Linked DNA regions of Homo sapiens: all the other regions are linked to region 1. The links are contacts of gene promoters, found by promoter capture Hi-C in human tissues and cell types (Jung and others, 2019). All regions are on one chromosome and are shown on one strand. The core of a region is centred on a gene start or on the middle of the fragment in contact, and the rest is flanking DNA. Distances in the headings are between cores, read along the strand shown.

Region 1 (2,864 bases), core at 190-2,689:
GTACCAATGGCTGCGCAACAGCTCTGAAAGAAAAAGGGAAAGAACACACAAAAATCCCCCCAGGTTTAACATCATCGCTGGATGGAAACGCCTCCTTTTTACATCCTAGTTATGCTTCTGCTTAACTCCACCTTAAAAAGCATCTGAGATCACATGCAAACAGCCATTCTCATGTAACACAGTACAATCTGCGGGAACATAAAAAGGCCTCCATTTCGACTAAGCTGTGACTGGTAGGGAAATGCCTGACAAGAAAACACAAGCTGTGCTGCCTCAGCCGCCGTGAGATTCCATCAGACCGAGGGCAATCAGCAGGTTTGCCTCTGCGGCCATCCTGGAAGTGCTGAAGAACGAACCCGAGCCCTCTCCGCCGCCCACCCCGCCTGGATAAGCAAACTTCTCAGGCACACCCCCGTTCGTCTTCATTTTTAAGGGCAACCTAGGGAACTGTTCTCTACAACTAATCGTTGCTTCGGCAACCATGGCTTACTTCAAAGCAGCACTTCCTTAAACGCAGCGCTCGCCCACAATTTGCCATTAAGCAAGAGAGCGCGAGCGAACGCCAGGCTCGCCCCGGCCTCCCTTTTCCTCGCTATTCAAATACTCGGTTAACCTTCGCCCTGGTCCCCATGGCTACCGCGCTCCGAGGCGTTTCCGCGGGGGCTGGCGAACCGGGCAGCTCCGCGAAGGAGGGGGGCGCGCGACCGGGGCGTCTGGCCCCATCCCCAGCGCGTCCCCCGAGAGCCGGCGGCCCCGGAGGGTGCACAGCCGGGAAGCGACACACGGCCGAGGGGTGCCGGGATCGGGCCGCCCCCGCCCCAGAGCGCGCGATGACTCACAAATGCAGCAGCTGAAGCCTGAGTCAGCCCGAGCGGCGGGCACGCGCGACGCGCTCCCGCCATGCCGGGGAGGGGGCGAGGCCGGGCCGGGGAGCGCGCGGGGAGGGGGCGGCCGGCGCCCGGGCCCGCGCCCGCCCGCCGTCCGCCCAAACTGCGCCACACGCCGCGGCGGGGTCACGCGGCGGCCGCCGCCATCTTGTGCGGCCGCCATCTCCTGGCCCGCCGCGCCCGCGACTCACCGTTTTCGTCAAATAAAGACATAAACCCAACGCTGCTCGCCCGGGACTGGGATGAAGTGAGGCGCGATATAAACCCGAGTCCGAGTCCGAGGAGGCGGAGGCGAAGCGCAGCGAGGAGCGGCCGGGCCAGGTGCCGCCGCCGAGCAGCGGGGAGGGGCTGTCCCAGCGACGTCCGCGGTCCACACCCGTCAGCGCCGGAGCTGGGCGACCTGGCGCGGAGAGACGGCGCCGTGAGCCGTGGGCGGTCGGGGAGTGCACCTTCCCCGCCAGCCAGCGGCCCGAGGGGTCGAGGGGGCGGGAAGCACCGGGCAGGGGGCCGCCCCTTCACCGGACTCACCTCTGGAATGTTCTCGCTCTGACTGAACAACGCCGCCGCCGCGCTCAAGCTACCCTCGGCCCCAGCGTCCGCCCCCCGCGTCAGGCCTCACTGCCCATTGGCTGGAGGCCTGCCACAGCTCGCTCGTCATTGGTTCGCTTGCGACGTCAATCGCATCTTTCCGCGCCCCTTCTGCTTCCTGAGGCTCAACTCGCGGCCTCGGCCCGCCTCCAGCCCCGGTCTCGCTTCCTTCCTCTCCCCTCCCCCCGCCTTTCCCAGAGGTCTTCGCGGCGCAGCCCTTGGGTCTCGCGAGACCCGGAGTGGCCCTGGTGGCGGGGCCGGGGTACCGGGGGCCGTTCTTTGTCGGTTTGGGCCTTGAGGGGGAGATGGTGGTTGGTCCCCTCCCTCGCCGGGTCTGGGACAGGCCGCGGCGTCATGGCGACTCCCGGGACGCAGGAGCCATCGTCCTCGAAACTGCTTTCGAGGCCGTGTTTTTGCGGCTGCCACCTTCGGGGAGAGGAACCCGACCGCGTTCTCCCCGCAGCGGGCGCTCATCTCCCTTTCCCGTTCTCCCGGGACGCCCGACTCCGGGCCTCGAGGAATGAGTTGTTTTTCCACCTTAAGCCCCAGGCCTGGGTCTTTCATCCCAGGGACGTCTTCTGTTTCGGACTCGGGGTGGATTGGCCGCTGGCGGAACGAGTCCGTGACTCGCCAGTGACCGCCCAGGGCGGTCGCGAGGCCGCGCCGCCTCGGTGTCGGCCCGCAACCCAGCCTGCGCGCTTAGCTCAGCGCGTCGCCTCCCGTTTTCGGAAGAGGAGGCCCTTAATTGGTTTGGAATCCTGGGGCCTCCTGAAGGCGCTTCGTGGTGGGTTCCCACCTTCTGGTGAAGGCCTCCCTGCTCTCCCAGGGTTGAAAAGCGCTATCCTTCGTGCTTCTCTTGTCACCTTTCTCCTAGTGGGCATCACGTCGAGTCCACCCCCTCTAGTTTATGACTTGTGAATTCTTTGATAAGCAAATCGTAGCCCAGAGCAGGCATTTATAATGAGATTCCAATGTATTCCGTTGAAAATTACTATTATTTAGGCCGGTCGCGGTGGCTCACGTCTGTAATCCCAGCACTTTGGGAGGCTGAGGTGGGCGGATCACCTGAGGTCGGGAATTTGAGACCAGCCTGGCCAATATGGTGGAACCCTGTCTCTACTAAAAATACAAAAAATTAGCTGGGCGTGGTGGCTCGCTTGTAATCCCAGCTACTCGGGAGGCTGAGGCAGGAGAATCCTTGAACCCGGGAGGCACAGGTTACAGTGAGCCGAGATCACACCACTGCACTCCAGCCTGGACAACAGAGCGAGACTGTCTCCAAAAAAAAAAAAAAAGAAAATTTTTATTATTTAGAGAGAGGCTCTCATATTTTAGTTCTGTTGAAACTCTCCCATTCTTTCTGAAACTTGGATTTTTTTTGTGAAAACT
Region 2 (2,864 bases), core at 94-2,593, 980 kb after region 1:
AAAGTGTTTGTTTAATGAACTAATAACTAAATTTCAATACCTACCATACTGGCCACCAGATGTGAAGATAACACCACCTTATTTCTTTGCTAGGCACAGGAAATCAGGTTTTACACATATTTGAACTTGGATAACTGAAGCTTACCCATAAACATTTAAGATCTTTATATTTTCACCTTTTTGTTTGTTTGGAGACAAGGTCTCGCTGTGGAATGCAGTAGTATGATCACAGCTCACTGCAGCCTTTACTTCCTGGGCTTAAGTGATCTTCTTGCCTCAGCCTCCCGAGTAGCTGGGACTACAAGCATGAACCATCATGCCCGGCTAATTTTTAAAATTCGTTTGTACAGACGGGGTTCTCATGTTGGCCAGGCTGGTCTCGAACTCCTGACATGAAGTGATCTTCCCACCTTGGCCTCCCAAAGTGCTGGGATCACAGGTGTGAGCCCTGGCGCCCTGCCTTAGCTTTTCCGTCATGTCTTGTTTTGGCTTCAGGATCCTGTATGACATCGAGTCCCCTTGTTTCCTCAGGCTCCTTTTGGCCGTGACAGTTTCTCAGACTTCCCTGTTTTTGATGACTTTGACAATGTTGAGGGATACTGGTCAGGTATTTTGTAGAACATCATGAGATTTATCTGATGTTTTTCTCCTAATTAGACTGAGGTTACGGGTTTTGTTCAGAGGAGGACCACAGAAGTAAAGTGCCATTTCTATCATGTCATATCAAGGGCACGTACTGGATATACTGTCATCAGGACTTTTCTTTGGGTCCCACCTATTGCCCGGGCTGGTCTCAAACTCCTGGGCTCAAGCAGTGCTCCCACCTCAGCCTCCCAAAGTGCTGGGATTCCAGGCGTGAGCCACTGTGCACAGCCAGGACTTTCCACTGCTGAAGTTGACCTTGATCACCTGGCTGGGCAGTGTTTCCAGGTTCCTCTGCTGTGACGTTGCTCTTTCTCCTCCTCCCACGCTGTGCTCTTTGGCAGGAAGTCACTATGCATAGCCCACACCTGGGGGTAGGGACGTATTCACCACCTGCTTGAGGGTGCAGTATCTACATAAATTATTTGGAATTATTCTGCGTGGGAGATTTGTTCCCTCCCTCCCATTTGTTAATTTTTTTTTTTTTTGAGATGGAGTTTCACTCTTGTTGCCCAGGCTGGAGTGCAGTGGGGTGATCTCTGCCCACTGCAACCTCTGCCTCCTGGGTTCAAGTGATTCTCCTGTCTCAGCTTCCCAAGTAGCTGGGATTACAGGTGCCTGCCACCACACCCAGCTAATTGTTGTATTTTTATTTGTTTTTTTTTAATTTTTGTTTTGGCCAGGCGCAGTGGCTCATGCCTGTAATCCCAGCACTCTAGGAGGCCGAGGCAGGTGGATCACCTGAGGTCAAGAGTTTGAGACCAGCATGGCCAACATAGTGAAACCCCATCTCTACTAAAAATACAAAAAATTAGCTGGGGGTGGTGGCAGGTGCCTGCAATCCCAGCTACTTGGGAGGCTGAGGCGGGAGAATCACTTTCGGAGGTTGCAGTTAGCCGAGATCAAGCCACTGCACTCCAGTCTGGGCCACAGAGTGAGACTCCGTGTCAAAAAAAAGAAAAAAAGAAAAAGAAAAGTGGTTTGGGAATAAGTTCTCATTCTATGTTCAAAACCAAAAGTTGATTTTATAGGGTATTATTATTTTTCCTATTTTCCTCTATCCGTTATAGAGAATGGTTTCCAGACCTGGTCTGTGTCTTTCATAACTTTGACCTTCTGGGGGTTTCATGCACCGTTCTTCCTAAGCTGGGCTAACATTTCACTGTGGTCTGTGTTTGCTGTGGGAAGAAGCCACCGATGTTGAAATGTAAGGGCCTGCTGTTTATGCACTGTTCATTCAGGGCTGCACGTGCCTATGTGACTTGAATTCTTTATTGATGGCTGAGCTGCAGGATTGAGCATGACTTCTTGCCTGGGGTCAAGGCTCCAGAATTTTCCTTAGTCTCCTGTTATCAGCTTTTCTTAGAATCAGGTGGCACCAGGGAGCTGCTGCAGGACTCACAGGAAAGAGCAGAGGATTGGGTGTTAAAACTTGGTGTCGGCTGGGCGCGGTGGCTCACGCCTGGAATCCCAACACTTTGGGAGGCTGAGGTGGGCGGATCACAAGGTCAGGAGATCGAGACCATCCTGGCTAACACAGTGAAACCCCAGCTCTGCTAAAAGTACCAAAAAAATTAGCCAGGCACAGTGGCGGGCGCCTGTAGTCCCAGCTACTTGGGAGGCTGAGGCAGGAGAATGGCATGAACCCGGGAGGCGGAGGTTGCAGTGAGCGGAGATCGCGCCACTGCACTCCAGCCTGGGTGACAAAGCGAGACTCTGTCTCAAAAAAAACAAAAACAAAAACAAAAACAAAAAAACTTGGTGTCAGAAGGCATGGTATCGAGTTCTGGCCTCATCCTTCCTCAGCTCAACCTTAAGCAATTTCCCAGCTGTGAAACGGAAATGACAAGTCCTGCCTCTTGGGGTTGGGCCAAATAAAATATCAAACCTTAAAAGATTTGGGAAACTACTTAAGTAAAGTCCTTTAAAAATTAACGTTAGCTGAATTTAGTGCTTGCCACTTCCAATGTAATTGGAGGGTGGTTGGAAGGACCAAGTAAAGGAATTAAGATATTTGACAATTTATATATCTTTTCTTATTTCCCCTTTTTCATATTTATGTATGTAAAGTCAACTATACTTAGGAGTTCAAAATTTGGTCTTTATAGACCTATGCTACTTAAATCTGAAATCCTAGTTACTTCACCCATTAATTTTCTTTATCCAACCCTTATATATCTCCAAGTAGGTGCTTCACAAATACTAACTCACTTAATCCTCTT
Region 3 (2,864 bases), core at 267-2,766, 810 kb after region 1:
CTAATTTTTAAAATTTTTGTAGAGAAGAGGTTTTGCCATGTTTCTCAGGCTGGCCTGGAACTCTTGGGCTCAAGTGATCCTCCTGTCTTAACCTCCCAAAGTGCTGGGATTCCAGGTGTGAGCCACCCACACCTGGCCTTCTCTAAGAGTTTTATTGATGTAGGCCATGAGTGGTGGCTCACACCTGTAATCCCAGCACTTTGGGAGGCTGAGGCAGGTGGGTCACTTGAGACAAGCCTGGGCAGATGGCGAGAATAATTATTGCTGAATAATTTCCATTGTATGGAAATCCCACACTTTATACATCTATTCACCAGTTAATGGATATGCCTTTCCATTTTGAGGGTATTATGAATAATGCTGCTATGGATGTTGACTAAAGAAATAAAATGCAGCTGGGCATGGTGGCTCACACCTGTAATCCCAGAACGTTGGGAGGCCGAGGTGGGCGAATCACGAGGTCAGGAGTTTGAGTCCAGCCTGGCCAATATGGTGAAACCCCGTCTCCACTTAAAAAAAAAAAAAAGGGCTGGGCGCAGTGGCTCACGCCTGTAATCCCAGCACTTTGGGAGGCCAAGATGGGCAGATCATGAGGTCAGGAGATCAAGACCATCCTGGCTAACACGGTGAAACCCTGTCTCTACTAAAAATACAAAAAATTACCCGGGCATGGTGGTGGACACCTGAGGCTGAGGCAGGAGAATGGCGTGAACCTGGGAGGTGGAGCTTGCAGTGAACCGAGATCACGCCACTGCACTCCAACCTGGGTGACAGAGGGAGACTCCATCTCAAAAAATAAAAACAAAAATAAACAAAAAAGCCAGGCGTGGTGGCGCACACCTGTAGTACCAGCTACTTGGGAGGCTGAGGCAGAAGAATGGCTTGAACCTGGGAGGTGGAGGTTGCGGTGAGCCAAGATCACACCACTGCACTCCAGCCTGGGTGACAGAGCGAGACTCCGTCTCAAAAAAAAAAAAAGAAAAAAAAAAAAAAGGCTGAGTGCAGTGGCTCATGCCTGTAATCCATCCCAGCACTTTGGGAGGCTGAGGCAGGTGGATCACCTGAGGTCAGGGGTTCGAGATCAGCCTGGCCAACATGGTGAAATCCCGTCTTTACTAAAAATAGAAAAATTAGCTGGATGCAGTGGTGAACGCCTGTAATCCCAGCTACTCAGGAGGCTGAGGCTGGAGAATAGCTTAAACCTGGCAGGCAGAGGTTGCAGTGAGCCGAGATCGCACCACTGCACTCCAGACCAGGCAACAGAGTGAGACTCCATCTCAAAAAAAAAAAAAAAAAAAAGAAAGAAAGAAAGAAAGAAAGCTTTTAAAGATATGAGTTTGGGCCGGGCGTGGTGGCTCACGCCTGTAATCCCAGCACTTTGGGAGGCCGAGGCAGGCGGATCACGAAGTCAGGAGATCGAGACCATCCTGGCTAACATGGTGAAACCCCGTCTCTACTAAAAATACAAAAATTAGCCGGGTGTGGTGGCAGGTACCTGTAGTCCCAGCTACTCAGGAGGCTGAGGCAGGAGAATGGCATGAACCCGGGAGGTGGAGATTGCAGTGAGCCAAGATAGCGCCACTGCACTCCAGCCTGGGCAACAGAGCAAGATTCCGTCTCAAAAAAAAAAAAAAAAAAAAGATATGAGTTTGATGGCTGGGCACCTTGGCTCACGCCTGTAATCCCAGCACTTTGGAAGGCCGAGGTGGGCGGATCACCTGAGGTCGGGAGTTCAAGACCAGCCTGACCAACATGGAGAAACCCCATCTCTACTAAAAATACAAAAATCAGCCGGGTGTGGTTTCGCATGCCTGTAATCACAACTACTCAAGAGGCTGAGGCGGGAGAATCGCTTGAACCCAGGAGGCAGAGGTTGTGGTGAGTCGAGATTGTGCCATTGTACTCCAGCCTGGGCAACAAGAGTGAAACTCCGTCTCAAAAAACAAAAAAGAGTGAGTTTGATTCAGAAGCCTCCTGAGGACATTACCCAGAGGCTGATAGCCCAGAACATTTCCTTGGTGAGGTTTTCTTAGATTGCTCCAAAATAGTTTCAGCTCACAGTTATACATGAATTGTGGGAGTTCAATACGTGCAAAATCACATCAGACTTGCTCAGAAGTTACACTGAGGCAGAGTTACATCAAGGTTTGGGTAAGAATACATCTGGTTATAGATCACAGAAGCATCATCACTAACCAGATGTTTTTTTGTTTTTTTTTTTGAGACAGAGTCTCGCTCTGTCGCCCAGGCTGGAGTGCAGTGGCGCGATCTCGGCTCACTGCAAGCTCCGCCTCCCAGGTTCACGCCATTCTCCTGCCTCAGCCTCTCGAGTAGCTGGGACTACAGGCGCCCGCCACCACGCCCGGCTACTTTTTTTGTATTTTTAGTAGAGACGGGGTTTCACCATGTTAGCCAGGATGGTCTGGATCTCCTGGCCTCGTGATCCGCCTGCCTCGGCCTCCCAAAGTGCTGGGATTACAGGCGTGAGCCACCACGCCCGGCCCTAACCAGATGTAATGAGGAGGGAAAGGCAAGGCTAGGGTCATGGATCTTTTAGAGAATGTAGCAACTCAAGCCAGAGGCGTGGGGAGGGGGACTGTGTGCTCTGTCGCGTTTTGTCTTCAAAGCAACTTTCTGGAGAGCTGCAGGTGGTCACAGAGGTAGGGCTTTGTGAAACTGTGCTGCAAACAGAAAGGAGCATGCTTGGCTTCCTAGGTGTGCTACTTTATCTCACAGAACGTTCACATACAGATCTTTGTGTTAGAGATGTTTTCAGGCCAGGCATGGTGGCTCACGCTTGTAATCCCAGCATTTTGGGAGGCTGAGGCGGGAGGATTGCTTGAACCCAGTTCGACTCAGCCTGG
Region 4 (2,864 bases), core at 164-2,663, 760 kb after region 1:
CGTGATGGCGGGCGCCTGTAGTCCCAGCTACTGGGGAGGCTGAGGCAGGAGAATGGCGTGAACCCGGGAGGCGGAGCTTGCAGTGAGCCAAGATCGGGCCACTGCACTCCAGCCTGGGCTAACAGAGCGAGACTCCGTCTCATAAATAAATAAATAAATAAATAAATAATAAAACATATGCCCAGCCAGCTGTGGTGGCTGACACCTGTAATCCTAGCACTTTGGGAGGCCAAGATGGGAGGTTATCTTGAGCTCAGGAGTTCAAGACCAGCCTGGGTGACATGGCAAGACCCCCATCTCTACAAAAAACACAAAAATTCCCTGGGCATGGTTGCTGTGCCTGTAGTCCAGCTACTCAGATGGCTGAGGTGGGAGGAATGCTTGAGCCTGGGAGGCAGGGCTGCAGTGAGCTGTGACCGTGTCCCCGCACTACAGCCTGGGTGACAGAGTGAGACTGTGTCTCAAAAAAAAAAAAAAAAAAAAAGTCTGGGCACAGTGGTTCACTCCTCTCCTGTAATCCTAGCACTTTGGGAGGTTGAGGTGAGATCACTTGAGCCCAGGAGTTCCAGACCAGCAGGAGGCTGAGGTGGGAGGATTGTCTGAATCAAGGAAGCTGAGGCTGTAGCTTGCCATGATCACACCACTGCACTCCAGCCTCGGTAACAGTGAGACCTTGTCTCAAAACAAACAGACAAAAACAAACTGGCCAGGCACAGTGGCTCACGCCTGTAATCCCAGCACTTTGGGAGACCGAGGGGTGGATCACAAGGTCAGGAGATCGAGACCATCCTGGCTAACATGGTGAAGCCCCGTCTCTACTAAAAATACAAAAAACAAGGCCGAGCACAGTGGCTCACGCCTGTAATCCCAGCACTTTGGGAGGCTGAGGCGGGCAGATCACGAGGTCAGGAGTTCGAGACCAGCCTGGCCAATGCGGTGAAACCCCGTCTCTACTAAAAAATACAAAAATTATCTGGGCATGGTGGTGGGTGCCTATAATCCCAGCTACTCAGGAGGCTGAGGCAGGAGAATCACTTGAAACCAGAAGGTAGAGGTTGCAGCGAGCTGAGATCACGCCACTGCACTGTAACCTAGGAGCAAAAGCGAAACTCTCTCAAAAAAAAAAATACAAAAAACATTAGCCGGGCATGGTGGCACGCGCCCGCCCAGCTACTCGGGAGGCTGAGGAGGGGGAATCACTTGAACCCGGGAGGTGGAGGTTGCAGTGAGCTGAGATGACGCCACTGTACTCCAGCCTGGGCGGCAGAGTGAGACCCCGTCTCAAAAATAAATAAATAAATAAATAAATAAATAAATAAATAAAACAAGAAAACACATGCCCACAATTCACACAAAAATATATACACAAATGTTCATAGCTGCATTCATAACAGCCAAAAAGTAGAAACAACTTATGATCCATCAGCTGATGAATGATTAAACAAAATGTGGTATATGGATACAATTGGAACACTATTCAGCTATGAAAAGTAATGAAGGGCAATATGGATAAATCTTGAAAACATTATGCTAAAAAATATAATTGCTAAGCTGGCCTCCATTAAAAATAACCCCCGCAAATCAATCAATCAATCAATAAAAACTGCTCTGCAAAAGATAATATCAAGATGGCAGAGAAGGAAACATCAGGAAATGGTCTTCCTGCCTAAACAATTACACTGGCAGAATCTGCCTGATGTGACTATTTTGAAACTCTGGAGTCTACTGAAGGCTTGTAACTTCCAGGGGAAGGCTTGGATGGTAAAGTGCAGTTAATTTTGCTCAATTTCAGCTCTTAGCAGTTTGGCAGCTACCCATTTCCCAGCCCAGCCTGCAAAGCAGGCAGTAGATGCAGGTGGTCCTGGACCGGCTTGCACACAGCTTGCAGGAGCCAGAGTGGGCAAATGCAGCCTGTCCTCCAGATAACAGGCATCTGTGCTGTGATAACTGACTGCTGCCTGTGGGGTTAGGATATATATTTGTGCACAGATCCTGGTTGATAACTCCTAAAGACCTTGTTATAGTCTCTTTTCAAATTTTTTTGAGACAGAGTCTGGCTCTGTCCAACAGGCTGGAGTGCAGTCGCAGAATGGGTCACTGCAATCTCTGCCTCCCAGGCTCAAGCGATTGATCCTCCCACCTCAGCCTCCTGAGTAGCTGAAACTACAGGTACATGCCACCACACCTGGCTACTGTTTGTATTTTTTGTAGCTACAGGGTCTCACTTTATTGCCCAGGCTGGTCTTGAATTCCGGGATTCCGGGATTCAAGTGATCCACCTGACTCGTTGTCTCAAAGCGTTGGGATTACAGGCCGTGAGCTACTGAGACTGGCCTTTTATTTATTTATTTATTTATTTATTTATTTATTTATTTATTTTAAATTTGAGATGAGATCTCCCTATCTTGCCTAGGCTGGTCTCGAACTGCTGGGCTGAGGGATTCTCCCTCAGTGCTAGGGTTACAAGCATGAGACACTGCAAAGTCCAGTCTTTTCATACAACGCTGGGAGTGTTCAGCCTCAAGGACAGACCTCTGACCTTCTCCTTCCCTCCTTTCATCTGCCCCAAGGCAGGACTTTAATCCTCCCCACCTTTCTCATTGTGAGGCTTTGGACCCTCCCCAGAGAGGCCCTATACCCTGGGGGAAGGAATGCTGAACTCTGAAGCTTCCATATGCTAACACTTTGGGAGGCCAGGTGGGGCAGATCACTTGAGGCCAGGAGCCTGGCTAACATACCAAAACCTTGTCTCTACTAAAAATACAAAAATAAGGCGGGGCATGATGGCTCACGCTTGTAATCCCAGCACTTTGGGAGGCCAAGGTGGGCACGTCACGAGGTCAAGAGATCGAAACCATCCTGGC
Region 5 (2,864 bases), core at 110-2,609, 720 kb after region 1:
ATGCCTATAACCCCAGCACTGCAGGAGGCCACGATGGGTGGATTGCTTGAGCCCAGGGGTTCGAGACCAGCTGGGACAACATGGTGAAACCCCGTCTCTACTAAAAAATATTAAAAAAAAAAATTTAGCCAGGCATGACGACATACACCTGTAGTTCCAGCTACTTGGGAGGCTGAAGCAGAAGAATCACTTGAGCCCAGGAGGAAGAGGTTGCAGTGAGCCAAGATCGTTAACACTGCACTCCAGGCTGGGTGAGAATAAGACTCTGTCTCAAAAAAAGGTGGGGGCGGGGGGGCCGGGCACTATGGCTCACGCCTGTAATCCCAGCACTTTGGGAGGCCAAGGCGGGCACATCACGAGGTCAAGAGATCGAGACCATCCTGGCCAACATGGTGAAACCCCGTCTCTACTAAAAATACAAAAAATTAGCTGGGCATGGTGGCACGTGCCTGTACTCCCAGCTACTCGGGAGGCTGAGGCAGGAGAATGGTATGAACCCGGGAGGTGGAGCTTGCAGTGAGCCGAGATCACGCCACTGCACTCCAGCCTGGGCGACAGAGCGAGACTCCGTCTCAAAAAAAAAAAAAAATTATTCAGAAATTATTTTTATTTTTGTTTTTTATATGCTTTTCCTGAGCTGTATATCAAAAAATTTTATACACCAAACTGGATAAAAGTTTAGCTATTCTAGTTTATAGAGTTCGGCCCTGTAGCCTCACCCCCAACCTCTCAGCTCCACTAAGAATGCGGTACAAAAATGGCAATACCATGGAAACTGACCTGTTGCCAAGCAAGCAGAGAACTAAGCAACAACTCAAAATGATAGTTAATCATCTGACATATAAAATCTTAATTCAGTCTGGGAGTTATCAATATCTGACATTTAAAAAGAGCCAGAAGGGCTGGGTGCAGTGGCTCATGCTTGTAATCCCAGCACTTTGGGAGGCCGAGGCGGGCGGATCACGAGGTCAAGAGATCGAGACCATGCTGGCTAACGTGGTGAAACCCCGTCTCTACTAAAAATGCAAAAAATTAGCCGGGCATGGTGGCGGGTGCCTGTAGTCCCAGCTACTCGGGGGGCTGAGGCAGGAGAATGGAGTGAATCCAGGAAGCGGAGCTTGCAGTGAGCCGAGATGGCGCCACTGGACTCCAGCCTAGGTGACAAAGCGAGACTCCGTCTCAAAAAAAAAAAAAAAAAAGAGCCAGATGTTTAAAAATCTTAAAAACATGGCTGGGTGCAGTGGCTCACGCCTATAATCCCAGCACGTTGGGAGGCCAAGGAGGGTAGATCACCTGAGGTTGGGAACTCAAGACCAGCCTGACCAACATGGAGAAACCCCGTCTCTACCAAAAATACAAAATCAGCCGGGTGTAGTGGCACATGCCTGTAATCCCAGCTGCTTGGGAAGCTGAGGCAGGCGAATCCCTTAAACCTGGGAGGCAGAGGTTGCAGTGAGCCTAGATCATTGCACCACTGCACTCCAGCCTGGGCAACAACAGCGAAACTCTGTCTCAAAAAAAAAAAAAAAAAAAAAAAAGAATAGTTAATTCAAAAAACAACCTATCTCAGCCAGGCGCGGTGGTTCACTCCTGTAATCCCAGCACTTTGTGAGGCCAAGGTAGAGGACTGCTTGAGGCCAGGAGTTCAAGATCAGCCTGGGCAACATAGTTATACTCCACCTCTTTAAAAAAAAAAAAAAGGATGGCGGGGCGCGGTGGCTCATGCCTGTAATCCCAGCACTTTGGGAGGCCGAGGCGGGCGGATCACGAGGTCAGGAGATCGAGACCATGGTGAAACCCCGTCTCTACTAAAAATACAAAAAATTAGCCGGGCGCAGTGGCGGGCGCCTGTAGTCCCAGCTACTCGGGAGGCTGAGGCAGGAGAATGGCGTGAACCCGGAAGGCGGAGCTTGCAGTGAGCAGAGATCGCGCCACAGCACTCCCGCCTGGGCGACAGAACGAGACTCCGTCTCAAAAAAAAAAAAAAATGATAAATAAATATGTTTAAAAAAGAAAAAAAAAGGCCAGGTGCGATGGCTCACACCTGTAATTCCAAAACTTTGGGAGGCTGAGAATGGCGGACCACCTGAGGTCATGAGTTTGATACCAGCCAGGCCAACACGGTGAAACCCCAACTCTACCAAAAATACAAAACTTAGCCAGGCGTGGTGGCGCACGCCTGTAGTCCCAGCTACTCGGGAGGCTGAGGCACAAGAACTGCTTGAACCCGGGAGGCGAAGGTTGCAATGAGCCGAGATTGTGCCACTGCATTCCAGCGTGGGCGACAGAGCAAGACTCCATCTCAAAAAAACAAAACAAAACAAAAAAAGCGAGACTCGCACCATCTCAAAAAACAAAACAAACAACAACAACAACCAAAAAAACCACCTATACTCCTTTGGAAAATTCTGGACTAGAATCATCAATACGGTAGTCAGATTTGTTTTTTCTTTTTTTTTTTTTTTGCTAAGAGATACTGTCTCCTGTCTCTCAGGCTAAAATGCAGTGGTGTGATCATACCTCATAGCAGCCTCAAACCCATGGGTTCAAGCAATCCTCCCATCTCAACCTCCCAAGTAGCCAGGACTACAGGTGCACGTAGAGACAAGGTCTTGCTATGTTGCCCAAGCTGATCTCTAGCTCCTGGCATCAAGCAATCCTCCTACCTCAGTCTCCCAAAGTGCTGGGATTACAAGTGTGAGCCACTGCACAGGGTAACCAGCAAGCAGATTTCTAAGAGCAAATGAGATCAGATGGAGTACTTCATCAGGAATATTGAAATGAACAAGGCTGGGTGCAGTGGCTTACTCCTGAAATCCCACCACTTTGGGAGGCCGAAGCAGGTGGATTGCTTGAAGCCAGGA
Region 6 (2,864 bases), core at 257-2,756, 650 kb after region 1:
GATCGCACAACTGCACTCCAGCCTGGGCAATAAGAATAAACCTCTGTCTCAAAAAAAAAAAAAAGAAATGTACAATTCATTAATGTTAAACTAGAGTCATTCTACGGATCAGGTTTTTTAAAAAACAGAGTTTAAAAAAAGAACTAAGATTATAAATATTCATCAATAGGTAATACAGGTAATTTTGTTTAAAAAAAGGCTAAATTATGATACATCCATACTAGTTACAGTAAAAAAAAATTAGATAACTGTAGATATACTGAGATGAAACAAAGTCCCAGATGTACTTATGAGCAGACTGATAACAGTTCACATTTTGTGGAAAACAATTATATATTATGCATTATGTACTATTTGAATTTTCTAAAATAGCATTTATTTTTATAATTACAACATAACTTTATAAGCTTTCAGTAACCCTAAGAGGCAGAACTCTGAACAGCCACTTTGAAAAGAAGAGGAAAAAAAAAACACACACACACACACAAGAAAAGCCAGGGATCTCCAGACATCCTATACACAGTTTTTTAGTATCTGCTAGAAATATGTCCTAAATCACTTATTTCTACTTAATGTCAGAATAAATGCTGGACAACCAAGACTTCCATATTCTTCCAAAACTGAGACACCTAAATTTTCAATAGAGTAATTGTTAAACATACTGACATATCCATGTAATAAAGTATTACACCTAGTTATTTAAAACCTTTATAAGCAGTTTTAACAACGTGGAAACTGCTTAGGTCCGATGCTCAGGAAGACAATACACACATACACACACACAGATAATCTATCATCTCACTTATATAAATACATACAAAAAAAATTGGAAGAAATACCCCAAAATGTTTAACGATTATCACCTCTGGGTGATGGAATAATAGGTGAATTTTTTTTATTCTTTATACTTTTATCTATGAACTTTCAACAATATGTAAATATTACTTTTAGGTAAGTGTTTGTTTTGTTTTTTTCCCAGAGTAGAAATCATTGCTCTTTCCTGATAGAAAATAATGCATTTCTACAAAGCCGTCCTCATCCTGCCTTCTCGCTAGTGGACTTTGTTCACTCTCAGTGCTCCGTGTTTACTCGGTTAATAAATGGAAAGACAGATGTATTCTATAAAGTCAATCCTTTTTTATGCCATCTAAGGAAAACCCCTAGGTCTCATGCACCCCAAGGCCCTTCCACCCTAACAACTCGATTTCCCTGAAAGGTATGTCTGGAAGCCCTTCCGTGACAAAGTAAATAAATCTTGATATTTCTCTTCAATTTTCATAACGTGAACACTACCGATGAGCCCTTGCTTAGTTCATCTGTCTTCCACTGCCTGACACTGACAGGTCATTTCCACGGGTTTGCTATGCAGCCGCTTGAGGTTCAGACTCCGCAGCGGGTTGGGGGCAGGGGTGCTGGGGCCTCCCGTGCGAGTTGGATTCTGGAGGAAGACAAGGAACCTGTTCCTAGCGCTCAGCCGGGTCCTGCGATGGCTGTGGCTGTGACTATGGCCAGGAAAGAGGCAGAGAGGCGGGATACGGTCAGAGCTGCGGGGGCTGGGGCGGAGAGGGCTGCTCCCAGGTCACGGCGCACCCAGGCGCCTCCCCCAGCTGCCAGCCCCACCTCGGCTGCTGCTCCACAGCAGGAGGGTGCAGCCCCAGCCCCCGCAGAGCTAGGGACTGGTGTATGGGGAGCAGGCCGGGTGCCCCGGGATGAACTTGAGGCCCAGCACTGCCAGCTTCCAGCTGTGGGAAGGGCTGGTGGCAAGAGGGACCCGGAAGCAGCACTGGGCCCGAGGGCGGAGATCAAGGGACATCTCCCTAAGCGTGGCCGAGCGCACTGGCTGCCATCTCCAGGTCAGCGGGGGCCACATTCGCGCACGGAACATCAGCGCGCCCCCAGAGGAGAGCTTGGCCCAAAGCATCCTCCGATTCCCAAGAGAAGTTGCCCACATTGCTTGGGACCCCCGGGGAAGCCCCGCTGGTGGAACAGTAGGGGTCAGCACCCCAGGCTGACCAGGGTCTGGGATCGGGGGGACCTGCGCCCAGGTGGCCTCCACGCTGGCGCTGCTCTGGCTTCTTTTCCGTGCTCCACCTCTCCAATTCTGAAACCAAACCTGGACTCGTGGCTCGGGAGTCTGTTTTTCTGGCCGGTTCTTTTCTGACAGTAATTCCAGGACAAGGGTCCGTTTCAAAGGCCTCAGTAAGAATCGTGTATTGATATCTGTCAAATTTGGTCCTCCTATGCCTCTGGCCTGGCTCAAGTGTGTCTCAGCCACAAGCCGAGCTCGCTGTCCACTGGGAGCCTCAGTGGACAGGTTAGTTTTTTTAAAGTTTAAAGTTTTAACCAACTTTAAACTTAAAACGATTGTAATCAGGGCTTACAATAAAACTGTAAATTTATTTTATAGGCAACACCACTGTTTAAAAATCAATTAACTTTACATATTCTGCCCTTTTCTTCTAGGTCTATGAAAAATAAGATAACATTAAAATTAAATTCTGACTCCAAAGACTCCAATAAGCAATACAATAGGAAAAGTGACTAATACAACTTTAAACTGTAATAACAGAAAGATAGTGGCTAACAGGCTAAATGAACACAGCCTGAGAAATAAGTGAGATTATGACCCAGGAGTGAACTACTTGGGGTTCCGCCACTCACTATCTGTGCTACTTTTACAACCCTCTGACTCTTTGAACTATGGGATGCCATCTGTAAAACAGAGAAAAAATCTTCCTCCTGGGTTACTGTGAACACTGAATGATACAGGAGTATGAAAAACATTTTAGTACTGTGCTGGCATAAAGGTTCAAAAAATGCTCAGTATTCTTCATATTCAGTTCTGAGTACAATTTAAGATGGAC
Region 7 (2,864 bases), core at 257-2,756, 560 kb after region 1:
CCTCTCATTTGAGAAAAGAACGCTGTACACTATTTTGCCAGACATCCTACATATGATGCAGTCTGTTCACAGGCCATTTTCAAAGACGTGAGAGACATGAGAAGATCTCAGGACGAACTGATGGTCCACTTGGCCATTCCCTACAGTAAGAATTTTATAGACAAATACAGGGTAACAGCAAACAACATTTCCAAACGCTCCGGCAGTGTGTAGTCGCAGCAAATGCTAGGAAAAAAAATAAATAATGGCTCCTCTTCAGTTGTATGCCGTGAATGTAAATTAAGAAGCCGCTACAACGCTCGACATAACCTTTCTGACGCCACAAAAATGAATGAATTATATCCATACACACACACAGGCACACACACCACGCACCACGCATCACATGTCATTCTGAAAACTGATTCTGAGCTTAATTCGAAAAACGTGAAATACAACTGGTCCCGTCAACAGCTCGTAATCTGAAGGTTTCTTGCATTTCCAAGCACGTCCATAACACCTCATCCGTTTCCAGTTTGTTACTGTTTCCAACCGAAGGGAGAGAATTTTCCACACAGAATTATCTCCTCGGGTCCAAATACTAGACCGAAGTCCCCACACGGGGCTGGCTGGCGGCGTGGAACCGGCCAGCCCGCCGAGAGCCGCCTGGCGCCCGCGGGGAAGACGCAGAGCCCGCGGCCAGGAGCCGCCCGGTGCCCCGGGAGTCGCCGGCCCTCGGCGGCCGCGCGAGGGGGATTCGCGCCCTCTGCCCATACCCGGACCCCCGCGCCGCCCGCCAAGCGGTCGGAGGCGCCTCTGAGGCGGAATGACTCAGGACCAACTTTCCAATAACGCCCGGGCCCCCCCGGCCGGCCCGGGCAGCGCGCTCGGCCACGCAGCCCCTGAGCCGCCCGTCCCCCCGCGTGAAACCCGCGGCCCCGCGGGGTGCCGGGTCCTCAACGCCAGCGGGGGTCACGGCCGTAGCGAGGCCTGCGCGCCCCGTTTCCTGAAAAGGTGCGGGCGCCCCGGCCCCCTCGGGCCCCGAGCCCGGCCTCCGGGACAAAGTTTGCCGAAGTTGAGGCGTCCGGAGGCGGGAGGCAGCCCGGCTGGGGCGCGGGGCCAGGCTGAAGCCGCGCCCCGCCGTCGCCGCTGGGACGGGCCGGGCCTGCGCCGCGCCGGGCCCGCGCCGGGCAGCCCCGAGGCCCCCGGGCCCCGCCGCCCAGGGCGCGGGATGGAGGCGACGGGGATGGAGGCGCCCGGCCGCGCGCCGGAGGCCCGCCCGCCCGCCGCGGCCCCTTACCTCGCGGTCCGTCGCCGCTCGGCCGGCTCAGGGGCGCCGGGCGCGTCCTCCGCCGCGGTCCGCAGCGTTCTGCTCCCCGGGCTGCCCCATGGCGGGGGGCGGGGAAGAGCCGGCGGCCGCCGCGGCTGCCGCCGGCTGGAAAGTCCCGGCTGGGCTGCAACCCCGGCTCGCGCACGCGGCGGCCGCGCCGCGCTCCCTCGCTCCCTCGCTCCCTCACGCAGCCCCGCGCAGGCACTTCCTCTCGCGCGCTGGAAATCCCCGGCGCGCCCGCCGCCCCGCCCCCGCCGCCCGCGCGCGTGGGAGCGGCAGGAGCCCGCGAGCGCCGCCGGCCCCACGCGCCCGCCGGCCCCCCGCGCGCGCCCGCGACCCGTTGCTAAGGGCCCTAGCGCCCGGCGGCCGCCCGCCCGGCCTTAGCAACGGCGGCGCCGCGGCGCGGGGCGGGGACGGCCCCGGGCGCCCCCCGCCTCCCTCCCGTCCCCGCCGCGCGCCCCGCGGGCCTCCTCGCTCTGCGCCGCCCCCGCCGCGCCCCCGCCGCCGCGCGTCCCCGCGTCCCCGCCTTTCCGGGTCAAAAAGCCACGCAGGCCGCGTGGGGGCCGAGAGGTGCTGGCGCCGCTCCTCCCCGCGGCCACCTCGCCCGCACCCCCCACGCCAGCATAGCATACGCAGCCCCCGTGCGTGCACGCCCGTGTGCCCATGGCCACACGCGACCCCTACGCACACGCACGGGTCCGATATGCGGCCCCCCGCACTGTCGCGGACGCATACACGACGGTCACATTCCCCTCAAGCGGACACGCACACACACGCTCACCAACACCGTGCGCACGCGTACCAGGCCACGCACCCTCGCGCACACGCAGGTGGGGCTGAGGGTGACTCAGGCCGTGGAGCCCCTTTTCGCATGCAGAGGGCAGGGCTCCACATTAGTTTGGTGGCACTTTCCTTTCTCCCTCCCTTGGACCCTCCCACGCCCCCGGAGTGGTGTCTTGCTCACGGGTGGACAGGGTAGCCAGTTTGCCACGTGCCCCCAGCGTCCTCGGCGGTCCTGGCTGCCCCTGCGCCCCCTGCACCCTCCACCAGGCCGCTGGGGCCTGCGCATTTCTCCCGAGGCCTCTGCCTTCTGCCCCAAAGGCATCAGTGGTGTGTCAGTGATTCACCTAGGCCCACCAAGGCAGCACCCAGCCTGGCTGGGCCTGGCGAGGTGGGAAGCGAAGGGAGGGCTTCTGGGAGGCTCTGGGCCAGCTGAGGGGTGAGGCCTTCGCTGGAGTTTGCAAGTCAGTGGTGAGGGGACAGAAAGGACTTTGCATTTTTCACTTCTCAAGAAGGCTTATAAAGAGCCCTACCCCAGAGCTGAGACCAGTGTGAGTAGCCAAGGCCAGTCTGCCTTCTTGTATTGCTCCAGTGACTCATGTGAGTGGAGGCAGGAAGTCCAGCATCTCCTCCTACAGCTTCACCCATGGAACGTTCCAGAACCCCAGATAGTCCGACCTGGCTGCTGGAAGTCTATCTGGACATCAGAGACATTGGACCATGTCTCTGGCTCCATTAGCCCAACAGATGCTTGTTCTACAGCCACACTCACCAG

Evidence for each region. The method cuts DNA at HindIII sites, captures the fragments that hold promoters and counts their contacts. A contact is called where the count stands out against the background at its distance.
Region 2: a fragment that was not itself captured here is called in contact with the fragment with the promoter of EIF5 in region 1 in 2 of the 25 tissues and cell types used here (dorsolateral prefrontal cortex and hippocampus).
Region 3: a fragment that was not itself captured here is called in contact with the fragment with the promoter of EIF5 in region 1 in 1 of the 25 tissues and cell types used here (hippocampus).
Region 4: a contact is called between a fragment that was not itself captured here and the fragment with the promoter of EIF5 in region 1, in 1 of the 25 tissues and cell types used here (hippocampus).
Region 5: a contact is called between a fragment that was not itself captured here and the fragment with the promoter of EIF5 in region 1, in 1 of the 25 tissues and cell types used here (hippocampus).
Region 6: a fragment that was not itself captured here is called in contact with the fragment with the promoter of EIF5 in region 1 in 1 of the 25 tissues and cell types used here (lymphoblastoid cells).
Region 7: a contact is called between the fragment with the promoter of TRAF3 here and the fragment with the promoter of EIF5 in region 1, in 1 of the 25 tissues and cell types used here (thymus).

Annotation. Positions count from the first base shown.
Region 1 is chr14:103,332,812-103,335,675 of GRCh38, reverse strand. It overlaps EIF5 (eukaryotic translation initiation factor 5), which reads right to left and starts at 1,439. Exons shown (of 12, transcript NM_001969.5): 1 at 1,416-1,439; 2 at 1,079-1,287; 3 at 1-23. It overlaps EIF5-DT (EIF5 divergent transcript), which reads left to right and starts at 1,016. Exons shown (of 1, transcript NR_158216.2): 1 at 1,016-2,864. RefSeq lists silencers at 584-823, 934-983, 1,124-1,543 and an enhancer at 1,864-1,983. The HindIII fragment of the contact is 9,721 bases long and covers 1-2,864 here.
Region 2 is chr14:102,351,404-102,354,267 of GRCh38, reverse strand. The region is part of intron 3 of CINP (cyclin dependent kinase 2 interacting protein); the gene reads left to right. Among named protein-coding and RNA genes, the nearest start is that of CINP, 10 kb to the left of the region's middle. The HindIII fragment of the contact is 9,147 bases long and covers 1-2,864 here.
Region 3 is chr14:102,519,882-102,522,745 of GRCh38, reverse strand. All of the region lies in intron 1 of LOC105370680 (a long non-coding RNA gene), which reads right to left. Among named protein-coding and RNA genes, the nearest start is that of ANKRD9, 12 kb to the right of the region's middle. The HindIII fragment of the contact is 6,441 bases long and covers 1-2,864 here.
Region 4 is chr14:102,570,287-102,573,150 of GRCh38, reverse strand. No RefSeq gene overlaps it. Among named protein-coding and RNA genes, the nearest start is that of RCOR1, 21 kb to the left of the region's middle. RefSeq lists enhancers at 1-99, 2,596-2,864. The HindIII fragment of the contact is 6,435 bases long and covers 1-2,864 here.
Region 5 is chr14:102,612,560-102,615,423 of GRCh38, reverse strand. All of the region lies in intron 2 of RCOR1 (REST corepressor 1), which reads right to left. Among named protein-coding and RNA genes, the nearest start is that of RCOR1, 21 kb to the right of the region's middle. The HindIII fragment of the contact is 9,224 bases long and covers 1-2,864 here.
Region 6 is chr14:102,682,686-102,685,549 of GRCh38, reverse strand. The region is part of intron 3 of RCOR1 (REST corepressor 1); the gene reads right to left. Among named protein-coding and RNA genes, the nearest start is that of RCOR1, 91 kb to the right of the region's middle. The HindIII fragment of the contact is 3,535 bases long and covers 1-2,864 here.
Region 7 is chr14:102,776,091-102,778,954 of GRCh38, reverse strand. TRAF3 (TNF receptor associated factor 3) reads right to left here and starts at 1,506. Exons shown (of 12, transcript NM_145725.3): 1 at 1,280-1,506. RefSeq lists silencers at 664-723, 964-1,013, 1,224-1,833, 1,924-1,983 and an enhancer at 2,694-2,864. The HindIII fragment of the contact is 12,756 bases long and covers 1-2,864 here.